Linked DNA regions of Homo sapiens: all the other regions are linked to region 2. Evidence: promoter capture Hi-C in human tissues and cell types (Jung and others, 2019). All regions are on one chromosome and are shown on one strand. Each heading gives the region's core, a stretch centred on a gene start or on the middle of the fragment in contact. The rest is flanking DNA. Distances are from core to core; before and after follow the strand shown.

Evidence for each region. The method cuts DNA at HindIII sites, captures the fragments that hold promoters and counts their contacts. A contact is called where the count stands out against the background at its distance.
Region 1: a fragment that was not itself captured here is called in contact with the fragment with the promoter of SHISA6 in region 2 in 4 of the 25 tissues and cell types used here (H1 embryonic stem cells, IMR-90 fibroblasts, adrenal gland and 1 more).
Region 3: a fragment that was not itself captured here is called in contact with the fragment with the promoter of SHISA6 in region 2 in 2 of the 25 tissues and cell types used here (dorsolateral prefrontal cortex and mesenchymal stem cells).

The regions. Positions count from the first base shown.
Region 1 is chr17:11,037,069-11,042,018 of GRCh38, reverse strand. No RefSeq gene overlaps it. Among named protein-coding and RNA genes, the nearest start is that of PIRT, 200 kb to the right of the region's middle. The HindIII fragment of the contact is 4,187 bases long and covers 1-4,113 here.
Region 2 is chr17:11,238,451-11,242,825 of GRCh38, reverse strand. It overlaps SHISA6 (shisa family member 6), which reads right to left and starts at 1,613. Exons shown (of 6, transcript NM_207386.4): 1 at 766-1,613. The coding sequence starts at 1,403. The HindIII fragment of the contact is 17,378 bases long and covers 1-4,375 here.
Region 3 is chr17:11,428,912-11,433,285 of GRCh38, reverse strand. The region is part of intron 3 of SHISA6 (shisa family member 6); the gene reads right to left. Among named protein-coding and RNA genes, the nearest start is that of DNAH9, 170 kb to the left of the region's middle. The HindIII fragment of the contact is 7,046 bases long and covers 1-4,374 here.

The sequences.
Region 1 (4,950 bases), core at 771-3,270, 200 kb after region 2:
GACTATGGCATTGCAGTAAAGAAAGAGTTGAATAGACATGAGGCCAGCCATGCCTTTTGGGAGATGGAGTTAGTACTCAAATTAATCTCATCCAAGGCTCACAGGTAGGGGTTTTTCAAAGGCGTTTTAGGGGAAAAGGTGGGGCTGAAATGTACCTAGGTAATAGAAGCACCTCTGTAATGGGTGTATAATAGAAGCACCTCTCTAATAGGTGCTTGCTGCTGATTGGTTGGGGCTGAAATAAAATTATAAGGAGCTGAAGCTGACCTCTTGAGCTGAATCACTTCTGAGTGGGTCCACAGGAGTGGGGTTGGCAGGTCCAGGTGGAGCCATGGGTGTCAGACATGCCAAAAAAACGAACAAACAATAAACCCTGAAAGGATGTCTTAAAAGGCCAATCTACAGTAGTGGTGTTATCCACAGGAATGGCTGGCAATTGTTTATGTCTACACCTTAGCAGAATCGCTTCTCTCCTCCTCCTAGCCTGATTAGCTGTACAAAGCCAGCTGAGTTTTGGTGAAGGCCTATTATCATTTAAACTATAAACCAAATGTCTCCCAAAGTTAGCTTAGCCTAAGCCCAAGAATGATTAAGGGAAAGGCAAGATGGAGGGTGGGTTAAATCAGATCTCTTTTACTGCCATGATTTTCTCACTGATACAATTTTTGCAAAGTCAGTTTCAGAAGGAGAAGCACGAAGAAAGGATGGAAATTTCACCTTTTTCACTGAGAAGAGGAGGAAGTTTGGGGACAGAGGCAGAATCATCACCTCACTTGCAGTCCACACTATTTTTTATTTTCTTTTAAGCCAGCGGCTCAACACACAATCCATGGTAAATAGGAATATGGTTGTTCCCACAGGAAGGTAAGCAGTTCCGTCCCCACTTCCTGAGCCTACTCCTGGGGAATCACTACCCCACCTTTGTACCATCTTTGAAACCGTGAGAGGAGCAGTATATCTATGGCCCATGGAAGTCTCTGAAGGAGGTACAAAATATACTTTAATCAAACATTTTCCAAAGCCGTAGAATACAGCACACCAAATACTCACATTCTAGTCTACTTTTGTGATATTGTGATTTATAATAAGATATATATGTATTTTATCTTCTTTCTTTCCTAAAACCCTTGTAACCTCCAGAGTGATAAGAGAGTCTTTTATATGCTAATGAGTAGACTGATGGCTGTCAGCCTCTAGATAGCTTCAGGATGGGGCTATTCATCAGAAGTACCAACCATGGCAGGATTAGAGAGAGGGCTTGAAGTTCCAGCCCAGCCTCCAACCTCCAGAAACGGAGAGGGGCTGAAGCTTGAGTTGAACACCAATGCTCAATTATTTATTCAGTCCTGCCTATCAAGAGAAGCCTTTATGAAAATCCAAAAGGGCGGGGTTCAGAGAGTTTTTGAATAGCTAAGCATGTGGAGGTTCCTAGAAGGTGACCCAGAGAGGGTGTGAACCCTCTGTACCCCTTCCCAGCTGCTTTGCTCTACAAATCCTTTCCATTGGCTGTTCATTTTTATCCTTCATAATATCCATTATGATGAATGGGTAAATGTAAGTAAAGTATTTCCCTGAGTTCTGTGAGCCATTCTAGCAAATCAACCAAACCTGAGAAAGGAGTTATAGGAACCTCTGATTGATAGCCAGTTGGTCATAAGTATATATGACAACCAACTAGTTGCTACTAGCATCTAAAGTTGGAGACAGTTTTGTAGGACTGAGCCCTTAACCTGTGGGAACTGGTATAGATCTACTCCAGGCAGATAAGGTCAGAATTGAGTTGAATGAGAGGTCACCCAGCTGGTGTCTGCTGGAGGATTGCTTGGCGTGTGGGGAAACAGGCCTCCACACATCTGGTGTCAGAAGTGTTATGGTGAGTGAGACAGTGAAAGCAGAAAAAAACACTTTTTTTTTCTTCCTGTCTGTGATAACTTTCCATCTCAAAGTACGGTGCAGCCTATTTGACCAATACAGTATCCCCCAAGATTATAGCCCAAGTAACAAAATAAGGATGTCTAAATTTTTAACAGAAAACCAAAAAGAAACCAAGGTCTAAAAATGAAATCCTCTTTCTCTTCTAGAAATAAATGGTCTCAATTTATTTATAATGTCAGATTCTCTCCTATCCAATTTCTCATTATGCTTTAACCGGCAAAAAGGTCTCACTCTAACTTCTTGGCCATACACTGAGTTTCTTAGTTTCTTTGGTACTTCTAAAGTGGAATTGTTAGAGTAGGCAGATAGCTAGACATGAGCAGGATGGAGAGTCCCTGAGAAAAGTGGGGTCTGGAAAATCTCACATCCCAGAGATCACACAAAACAAGCATACTAGATATAAGCAGAGAAGAGGGGAAATATCTATGCAGAAAAAAATGTCAGTAATCTTTCACTCTGCAGTTAACCTGTCAGAATGTAGCTAGCTATATGCTAATAGGGATGGAAAGAGGGCAAAGGAAAAAAAAATCCCAGGAGATACACAGGTGCAGTATGTACAGGTTTAACCACTATATGACCTTACTGGGGTGGCAGTAATGAGCAACACTCTCATTAGGTAGAATTTATATCCAACACCAGGCCCGTGCATGCATGTGCATCAACTGACAGTAAGGGAGACTCCTACTAACCTGGGAGCAGGAACTAGGTGGGGAAAAGGCAGAGTCTTAGGACAGAAGCAGGAAAACTAGACAAACACAAAGGCAGAGACTGAAAACAGAGGTGGGAACTTAAATAAAAAAATCTGGCATAATAAAAACCACAGTGGAGAACTCTTACTGCTGCTGGCTCACTCTCTCTTTTAAGCAGCCCACTCTGACTCATCTTTCAGAGTATACGGTCTCTTTAAATAAGCACTGCTACTGGTACTTTTCCAGCCACACAAGCTCGCTCTTCTCTTGGAGTGTACTCTTATCTCCTTAATAAACCTTTTGCTTTACGTTACTAAATGTCTCTTGGCTGAATTCTTTCTCCCAAGTTAGACGAGAACTGAGGATTCCCACACTTCCTGGTAATAGAATTAATTCAATCCTAAACTCTCACATGTCCTACTTGCCAAATGCATAAAAGGTCAGCATACAGAACAGGCATTCTTTCTTATGTGCTCTGCTTCCCTTCCTTTTGGTAACTGACTTCCCAGCCCTTGTGTGATGGGGCTGTCAATCCAGGTGGCTTTGCATCTTCTACCACAGAGTTAGGCATATCACGAAGAGGGGTCATTTGCAAACTCATTCCCACAATCCAAACACGTTGATTGGTTTTAGTTTGGACTCAAGACCCAAGCAAGATGAATCAAAGCCCTTTGGGGAGATTTACGTAAATGCATCCTATAAAACATTGCTTTTCTTTAGAAGGCAAAATTTCCAAAGACAACATAAGCTTACATTACATGTAAGCAGTGATGGAGCTACAGGTCTAAGATGAGGACAGAATTCTGTTATCATATGGACAAAGCTTAACTAAAAACAAAGACAAGCAGAGACAAATAGCTGAGTGATGGGGAGAGACAGACAGCAATAAAGACAGAGAATTCTGAAGATATTGTACAAACCCTGCAGACATTCCAACCTGCAGCTTGAGCCACCCTAAGATTCCCCTAGTTCCATGAACCAATCACTTTCCTTATATTGCTTAAACTGGTCGAGGAGGATTTCTACCTCCTTTAACTCAAAGAACCTGAATAGTTGAGTCAATGAGATATGCATGGTTTCTAAGTGCAAGAGACCCCACCACCACCTGCACCCCATACACACACACACACACACACACACACACACACATACATACACACAATGTAGACCATGTATATGCCTGCTGCAGAAATAGCATTTTCTATGTAATAGCAGTGGTGTCACATTGCTAGTCTGGAGCCACAACAGCAACCGTGTTGTCTGGGGTGGGGAGATAGACAGAGAAGGCTGGAAGGAAAGGATGGAGAAAGCTTGGTTTCAGTTTTGCCAGGAATCATCCTGTGGGCTTAAAATTGACTGGCAGAAATCCCCCAGGAAGTTAATTATGCTGTGATATGGTTTGGATCTGTGTCTCCAGCAAGTCTTATGTTGAATTGCAATTCCCAGTGTTGGGGGTGGGGCCTGGTGGGAGGTGATTGAAGCATGGGGGTGGATTTCTCATAAATGGTTTAGCACTCTCCCCGCTTGGTTCTGTCCTCACAATAGCCAGTGAGTTCTTCTAAGATTTGGTTGTTTAAAAGTGTGTAGCAACTACACCCTCTAGCTCTTGCTGCTGCTCCCACCATGTGAGATGCCTCACACCCCTTTGCCTTCTGCCACAACTGAAAGCTTCCTGAGGCGCCCCCAGAAGCCAAGCAGAGGCTGCCATGCTTCCTGTACAGACTGCAGAACAATGAGCCAATGAAACCTCTTTTCTCATTAGTTGCCCACTCTCAGGTATTTCTTTAGAGCAATGCAGGAACAGACGAATACACGCTGCCATCAACTTTTTATGAGATTTCTAGAAACCCAAAACTTTCTTAGCCTTATGTGCTGCTTTTGGAGCAACCAGAACCTGTCTTTAGAGACCCAGAAACTTCTGCAGGTTCCTCCCTGAAACTTTGTCTTTTCTGAGATTCTTCCAGCCTTATTTAATTCACTAGTCCAAAAACAGGACATATATTCCTTTCTCTCTCCTTTTTTCTTGACTGCTTGACCTCTTCTTAGACACCTAAGGGTCTCTCAGTTCTGAAAGAGAGAATTAATTCCAGGGCAGCCAGTCCTGAGCACAAAATTCATCCCTAAAATTTGTACTTTGAAGTAAGCCCTCCCTGCCTTTCCCCTCCAATACAAGTCCTTCCTTCCCCGCATGCACTCTATGTTGAGAAGAAATAAAGCCATTTCTTTTCTATATATATATATATATATTTTTTTTTTTTTTTTTAAGACAAGACTTCACTTTGTCACTCAGGCTGGAAGTGCAGTGGTGTCACCTCGGCTCACTGCA
Region 2 (4,375 bases), core at 364-2,863:
CTGCCATAGTTTGAGCTCTTGGCGTAAGTTTTGGTAGGAGGCAGCTCCCACTGTCTTTCGAACGTAAGCAGTGAAAGATGCCCCACCAGGTTTAACACAGGCGAGTACTGTTAACTCAGAGTTCTGCCTACAGGGTTTCAAAGAACGAGTCCTCTAGTCTCAGCAGGAAAGATAAACATCCCACTCCGCAGGATGCAATGAGGAGACACCATCTGTGCTTGGTCAACATGGAATGGAGAAATCTTTATCCCTACTTCCGGCAGGAGGCATCCTTTCTATAAAACCCCAATTCCTAATGTACGAGAACATCTCAGTTGACCCTAAGCCACTTGGTACCGCTTTCAGTAAGGTTCCAACATTGGTCAGTTTCCTATATTGAAGATGACACTCTGATTTGACTCAAAAAACTAAATGCCATTAAGAACCTACACCAAAGTGCCCTCATGCCAGGAAAGCAGAACCCTGGATCCTCATCCACGATTACAGAATTTGTAACATTCTTACACTTGGAACTTCATGCACTCAACCAATTCTTACTCTGCCTTGTAAATCCCCCTACCACCAAAGCATGCATTCCCGGTTCTGAAGAAATGGAGGAGGGGGCACAAGAAGACCCTGATTTATTGCATGCAAAAGGAGCGATGGTGGAAATGACTAGAGGGCCTGGGGAGGTGTGATGATGCCGAGAGTGAAGAGGACAGGGGAAGCAAGCTGAGAGGGTGAGGCCGCGGGGAGACCGGGGCGCGCGGCACGCGGCGCTCTCACCTGTGGATGTTCATCTCCCGTGGAGGGCGGTGGGCCTTGTCGTAGGAGACCTTGGCGAAGACGCCGGCCACGATGACGAAGGCGATCACCCCGCAGGTGATGTAGACGGTGAAGTTGGTCTTGTCCTTCTCCGGGTCGTACTTGTTCTCGGGCCCCGGCGACACCACCTTGGTGCTGGGCGTCTGTACCCACACCGGGCTCTGGTAGTTGGTGCACTGGCGCTGGTCCAGCTTCTCGTGGCGCTTCTTGCAGCAGAAGCGGTAGTAGCAGGTACCGCAGCAGTACAGGTAGCCGCTCTCGCTGTTGTTACACTCGAACTCCTTGTCGTACTGGCCGCTCACGTCGTAGTAGCCCCAGCACGTCTCGTAGGTGACGGCCGCGCTGGCCGCCGCCGCCACAGCCGCCGCGGGCTGCCCCCGCCGGCTTCCCGCCTCCGGGATTCCGGGCGCCCGGGCGGTGCCGTTCAGCTCGCGGCCGCCCCGTGCCAGGGCGCCCCCGGCCCTCCGGCCCCCGACGGCAGCGCCGCCTGCACTCAGGGTCCGGTTGGCGGCGCGGCCGCGGGCTCCGTGGACGCTGGGCAGCAGGTCCAGGGACTCCAGCGAGAGCAGCAGCAGCAGCAGGAGGCGCCGCAGCGCCATGGCGGGGCCGGGCGGGAGGGCGCGGGGAGGCTTCCGCGGCAGGCCGCTCCCCCGGCGGGCCGGGCTCGGAGGACCCGCCGCGCGGGCCGGGCTGGAGGCGCTGAGCGGTCAGCGGCTCCGGGGCGATGGCGCCATCGAGGCGCGGGCGGCAGTGGCGGCGGCGGCGCGCGGTGCGCACGGACCGGCCCGGCGCGGGCTGCTCGGGCTCTCAGGCTGCGCGCCGGCTCCGCGCTCCCCCTGCGGGCTCGGCGCGCCTCCTGGGCAGCCCCATCCCCCGCCGGCGGTGACTGCGGCCCCGCGCGCGGCTCGGCTCAGGCAGGACCCGAAGCGCGGCTCCGGGCGGCGGCGGCGGCGGCGGCGGCGTGGTCCCGTCCGGGCGGGTCCTGCGGGACAAGACGGGGAGCCGGTCACGGGGTGGGGCGACTGGCGCTCCGGGAGCAGGAGGAGAACCGCGGGCAGGCGGGCGGGGAGGGTGCGCGCAGCCCTCGAGGAGAGAGACTCGGAGCCGGGAGGGGCGTAGAGCCCGCTCCCAAGACGGGGTCCCGCGGCCCTGCGCGCCTGGAACCGAGAGCGCACGGGCCGCCCCTCCAGGCGCAGCTCGGCCGCCCGGGTCCCCCAGCCGCCCGGCCCCGCAGCGCGCTCCCGCCGCAGGCTGGCTCCCTGGGACGGAGCCGGTTGAGGCTGGGGTCCGGCGGCGAGCCGGGAGAGCGCGCGGCGGCTGGACCTCACTCACTCACCATGCCCGGCTGCGACTGCAGAGGCGGCGGCGGCGGCGGCGGCGGCGGCGGCGGGGCGAGGCGGGAACGCAGCTGCCGGAGCGAGCGAGCGGAGAGCCGCCGGCTCGCCGCCTGCACTAGTGCCGGAACGTGTGCGAGAGTGAGCGAGGGAGACACACGCACTCACACACCCGCACACACGGGAGCGCCGCGAGGGGAGGGGGGACAGGGGAGGGGAGGGCAGCCGCTCTCCGCCACCCACGTTTGCACGCCCGGGCGCTCAGGGTGCGGGGCGGGGGGGACTCCTTTTCGCTTCTTCCGGATCGCAGCAGTTGAAGCTCCGCGTCACGAAAGCTCCGGACAGCAGTTATTCGACACGGCGAACCCGGCGGGCGAAGAGGGGGCCGGGAGCAGGGCGGAACGTCCGCTCTGCAGCCGGCCCGCGGCAGGGACTGACCTCCCCTGCCATTGCCTTCTCTAGCCTTCGCGACCAGTCCCCACCCTACCGGAGCCCGGGGCAGCGCGCTGCCTGAGCGGGAGTTGGGGTTTCTGCAAGCCTTTGCCTCTCCCTAGTGGTGATACTCGCAGCCAGGAGAAGAGGTCAAACCCATTGCTACAGGTTCCCAAACTGAGTCCAGGGGTCAAGTGGCTTGTCTGAGGCTGTTGGGCGACCCGTGAGCTGAGCCTACACTCTCTTCCCCTTGGTCACTCTTTCCCCAACCCCGTACCCACTACGCATAAAGGCGCTAGACAGCCCCAGGACTGGATGGCAACTCTTTGCTATACTTTTTTTTTTCCCCGCGGAGCCTCGAGGCCATTAGAAAGCTATCTGAACCTCTGAGACTCAGCTTTGTAACCCCTGTGTTGAAATCTCTGTGCTGCAGCTCCTATGGGAGGTGAGGAGGATGGGGGTGCAGGGCGGGGGTGCTTTCCGGGGTAGTTGCGTGTCTGGGTCTGTGGAAAGGAGGCCTGAGTCTAACTTTCACAGCTACGAGGCCATCCCAAAAGAGAATCATAGTACCATCCTTGGCGTGTGTCCTTGGAGGAGGTAGGGGGAACTGAGAACAAAAAGCGATGGCCAAGGCCAAGATTCTGCCTGCGTGACCAGCGTGCTTTGGTTGAAGGCAGGGAACTGAAGGCAGGGAACAGGCTGTCAGAGCGAGGGCGGTAGAGAATTTTCCCTGAGACTTTCTGTTCAGTCCCACTCATGTGTGACCTAAACAAGGGATCCCTATCCAGGAACAGAAGAGTTCCTCTTTTGGGAACCGTGGAATGGATATATTAGAGCTCGAACTCAGACTCCAAGACACAAGAGGGAGATCCTGATATTGACTAGGGGGTGGGGTGGGGGGCGGTGCACAGACTATCCCCGCAGCTCCCCACTTGCTACTGTCTCCATTCCCTCCCTCTTCCTCTGCACTTCCTCCCGTTCCCTTAACTTCTCAGTTGCCACCTTCTTCTTAAAGATTCTGTCCAACAAACATTTGTTTAGTGCCTACTCCCTGCCAGCAGAATGAATAAGAGAGTCCCTTTCCTCAAGGAGGGGGACCTTGTAGACCATTAGGGAGACAGATAAACAAATGATTTCCACATGGCAAGGTTACGTCTCATGATAAAGGCGGGCAGGGTGCTCTGAGAGCAGAAGACAGGCACCCAGCCTAGGCCTGCAAGGGGACAGATGGGGGTCAAATGTAGCTTTCTCAATGAGGTAGAGCAGAATCTTGAAGAATGGATTACGAGTTAATACAGCAAGCAAGAGGGGAAGGAGGCTCCCAGCAGAGGGAACATCCTTAGCAGAACCAGAAAGACAGGAAGTGGTTAAGGTGTGTGAGCAGGGATGCAAGCAGTTTAGCGTGAACCCTGAGGGAGTCTTCCAAATAAGGCTAGCAGGAGGGTATTGAATCCTCCCTTGCAAAGAACTTGAATTTATTCTACAATTGCTGGGGAACTGTTGGTGGGTTTTAATCAGGAGAAGACACTGTCAGTTTTACATGTTTGCTGGATCTCTGAGTCAAATGGAGTAGGGAACACTGGACTGGACGCAGGAAAAGCAATTTGGAAGCTGTCCTGATAATACAGGTAAAAAATGATGAAGGGATGCAGTAGATTACTGGGAGTTGATGCCCACAGTGGAAATAAGCATGGCTGAAAAAGCAGGTTCAGGACAGAGTTAGCAATAGTCGTGTTGTGGTTCCTTTGAGAGAACTAAGTGGAGCTGTCCTGCACAAGAATTGCAAGCTCAGAAGAGAAGATAAG
Region 3 (4,374 bases), core at 656-3,155, 190 kb before region 2:
TGGACACAGGGAGGGGAACATCACCCACCGGGGCCTGTCGGTGGGTGGGGGGCTAGGGGGAGGGATAGCATTAGAAGAACCATTTGATGTAGATGACGGGTTGATGGGTGCAGCAAACCACCATGGCACATGTATACCTATGTAACAAACCTGCACATTCTGCGCATGTACCCCAGAACTTTAAGTATACTAAAAAGATATATATAATAGCTGTATTGAGATACAATTCACATGCCATACAATTCACTCATTTGAAGTATATGATTCAATGGTTTTTTGTGTATTCACAGAGTTGTGCAACTGTTACCACAATCAAATTTAGAACATTTTCATCACCCACAAAGAAACTCTGTACCCATCAGCAGTCACTCTCCATTTCCTCCTGCTCTCCAGCCCCAGGCAACCAATAATCTACTTTCTGTTTCTATAGATTTGCCTATTCTGGATATTTCATATGAATGGAATCATACAATACGTGGGTTTTTTTTTTTAATACAACACTGGCTTCTTTCACTTTGCATAATGTGTTCAAGCTTTGTGTCTGTTGTAGCATGTGTTGGCACTTCATTCTTTTTATGGGTAGACATATGTTATTGTATGAATGTAGTATATTTTATTTGTCCATTAATCAGTAGATGGATTGACACAGATAAAGTGGTTTCTCCCCTTTGTTTTTATGAGTTATTCTATGTCCTCCCAATAAATTCCTTCTCTATTTAAGTTAGGCAGGGTCAGTTACCATTGCTTGAAGCTAAATAACTGTAACAGATCAAATTTTCTCTATAACTGCCCATATAGAACATATATTTCAGATGCAGTGGCCCTAGGGTTTAGGTGGCACGAAGCCCTGTGCCTCATTCAACTTCAGACTTTCTTTATAGGACTTTCAATGAAGTAGGCTGAGTGTAAACATCATGGCAGCAAAGCAGAACTTACAGATAATTGAGCGTTTTGACTGTTGATTCAACTGTCCCATTCTCACTGACTCAGAGGAGTCCACCCTACTGAGAGTTGCAAGAGAAAAGCTCATGGCCAACAGCAGAACCCATCCTATGCAGAAGCATGAAGTCACAGAAATCCATTTTTATTTTTAATCCTTGTGGCTTCCTCTCAATAAACCATTCTTCCACCACCATCTCAATGCTTTTATCCTTTCTTCTCTGATCTCTCAACTTCCATTTTCATGGAAGAACCCAATATTGGTTTTATAAACCTTCAGGGTGAGTTTGAATCTTTTTGTTCCCTCTTACAAGCAAATTTGCTTTTAGGATTCTAGTGTACCTGAAGAGCACTCTGCTAATGGCAAGGCATTTGGCCTCAGTTTGTTACATCTATATAATGGGAGTGTGGGGGTGGTTGGACAGGCCAGTGATGTTTCAACTTTTCTTAGCAACAGAACCAATTCTTCAAGTGCTATCATAGGTGGAAGCCAAAACACAGGTGAGCCCAAGGAAGAGCTACTCTGTTTTTGTTTTTGTTTTGTTTTTGTTGTGTTTTTAACTTAGAATACCTAAGTCTACCTTTCAAGGGTACCCCATGCCCGGGTGTGTTTGTAGACTGAATAACTTAGGTTTAAGGAAACCTGCTGTTGGAGAAACAGGGAACGGATAGCTCTTGGACAAGATCAATCGCTACAGTGGGGTTTTCTGAAACATGGGTACCAATTCACATGCTGGAAGTTTGAAGAAGGAATGGATCTGAAAAATATCTTGGACTTAAGAGATTAAAGAAACAAAATTAGCAGCTGGCAGTGTCCACAATATCATTTCCTCTAGAAGGATGCTTCCTCCTTGGACCATGGGAAAAGCTAGATTCGGTATGCAGTTGAAAATATTACATCTTTTACTCAGTTGGTATACCTTCATCTTTGAGCAAAGTCTAAGGCAGCCACACAAACCTGTGTGGTGGTGGGTGTGGGTAAGAGGGACAGAGCCATAAAGGGCAGCTCTTCCTGCTCCACACTCCCCTCTCTGCTGTTTCCTGTGTGGAGGGTGCAGCTGTCTACCAAGGGGACTGTATCCACCTAGGAATTCTGGACAGTCAGCAGCAGCGAGGAAGTACAATCCTCAGTGGCATGGAGGAGAGTGGGGAGACATGAACAACCAGAAGAACAAGCTGCTGGGCTGATGACTCAGGGGGGACATGAGAAGAGAATCCCGTCTTTCCGACGGAAGAAGATGTGGGAAACTCATGCCAGGTGGCATCATAATCTATGCTTCAGTCCCTCCCCAGATTATCCCAAACCTTGGCACCCCAGCCCTGTGTCAACCAGTCCCCAGCCCAGTGAGGGGAGACTAACTTAGCAAATGCCCATTCCAGCCACAAAGGCTCCTCCGTGACAAGCTGCTCTGATGTGAGGATGCTGCTTCCGTTAAGCCTCTTTCAAAAGCCTCGTGCTGTGCTATGTGTGTCAGAACAGGCTTGGGAAGGGATAACACTTCTCCTGCTCTCTTTGTGTTCTTTGCTGTTCCAAAGTAAGAAGCATTCAGAATGAATGAGGCAATGGGGTTCACACCCTACCTCTGAGTAATGCTGTAGGTGCCTCTGGTTCTTATTATGCCCAGGTGCATCCAGAAATAGAAGTCGGTTGGTAGGCAGACACCATGGAGCCCAGGTCAGCCAAGGTAAAGGTGAGCCCTCATGCTGCCATAAGACATAAATAGGGCTCTCTTGAGGCAGCCTCTACACTCCCTTACTCCCTTCTCCTTCGTCTTCAGTGATACATCAGTCAGGATAGGGTGGATTATGCTGGAGTAACAAACACCTCCAAACCCCCCATGACTCCAAACAACAAAAGTTGATTTCTTGTTCGTGCAACATGTTCATTGTGGATTTAGCAGAAGGCAGGATGGGAGCATCTGTTGATCATAGTCCCTCAGAGACTCAAACTTTGCTGGTGCCATGCCAGGGGCCTCTTAAGGGTCTTGCGGTAAAACACTTGATCCTGGAAGTAAGACTTCAATTCTACTCACAACACATGGGCCACAACCAGTCTCGTGGCCTCGTCCAATCACAAAAGGGCCAGAAACTGCAGTTCTCCTATGGACTCAAGAGTGGGGAGAACCAGAAACGTTCAACAAATGGCCCTAATGACTAAAATCGATGGAAAGAATGTAGTTTTAGGGTCAGAAAAACTCTGGCTTGTAATCTTAACTCTTCTTAGCTGTGTGACACTTAGCAAATTATTGAAGTCTGTGATCCTCAGTTTCCTCATCTCAAAAGTGAGGAGATAATACCTTCGTTGGGGCATCTACTAGTATTTACCACAGAAAATGGGTCATTGACAAATGTTAGTTCCCTTTCTTCCTTTTCCAATTCAAATACCTGATTGTAGGTAACTATCTTGATGGCCATGATGTAATAATCACTTTCAACCTGAAGGCTAAATGCAGATAAAGTTTAAAGTTTATTGTTTTTTTTTTTTTCAATTCCTATGAGGGATATTTGATTGACTGATTGATTGATTGATTGGATTTATTTATTTATTTATTTTTGAGACGGAGTTTCACTCTTGTCACCCAGGCTGGAGTGCAATGGCACAATCTCAGCTCACTGCAACCTCTGCCTCCCAGGTTCAAGCGATTCTCCTTCCTCAGCCTCCTGAGTAGGTGGGATTATAGGCATGCGCCACCATGCCTGGCTAATTTTTTTTTTTTTTTTTTTTTAAGTAGAGATGGGGTTTCTCCATTGTTGGTCAGGCTGGTCTTGAACTCCCAACCTCAGGAGATCCACCCGCCTTGGCCTCCCGAAGTGCTGGGACTACAGGTGAGAGCCAAGGCGCCTGGCCGGATATTTGAATTTTAATGGGTAAAAAGTTCAATTGGACAGATGGACTTTGAACACTATGGGATGAAACTTTCTGAACTGGCTCCTATGGTTCCCTCCCCCAACATTAACACCTGTGTGAAATGCCCTCCCACTGAATGTACCTTGTGACTTGCAAAAGTGATGGGATGGCACTTCTGAGATTAGGTAATAAAAGACCGTGACTTCCATCTTTTTTGTATTCTCTCTACCTGGCCCTCTCTCTTGACCACTCTGACGATGCAGCTGCCATGTTGGAGGGGCCCATGTGGCAAGGAACTGAGGGCAGTGTCCAGATAACAACTGGCAAGGAACTGAGATCCTCAGTCCAACAGCCCACAAGGAACTGGATCCTGCCAGCAAACACTGAGTGGATTTGAAAGTGGATCCCTTGGCCGGGCACGGTGGCTCACACCTGTAATCCTAGCACTTTGGGAGGCCGAGGCAGGCGGATCACGGGGTCAGGAGATCCAGATGAGACCATCCTGGCTAACATGGTGAAACACCGTTTCTACTAAAAATACAAAAAATTAACCGGGCGTGGTAGTGGGTGCCTGTAGTCCCAGCTAC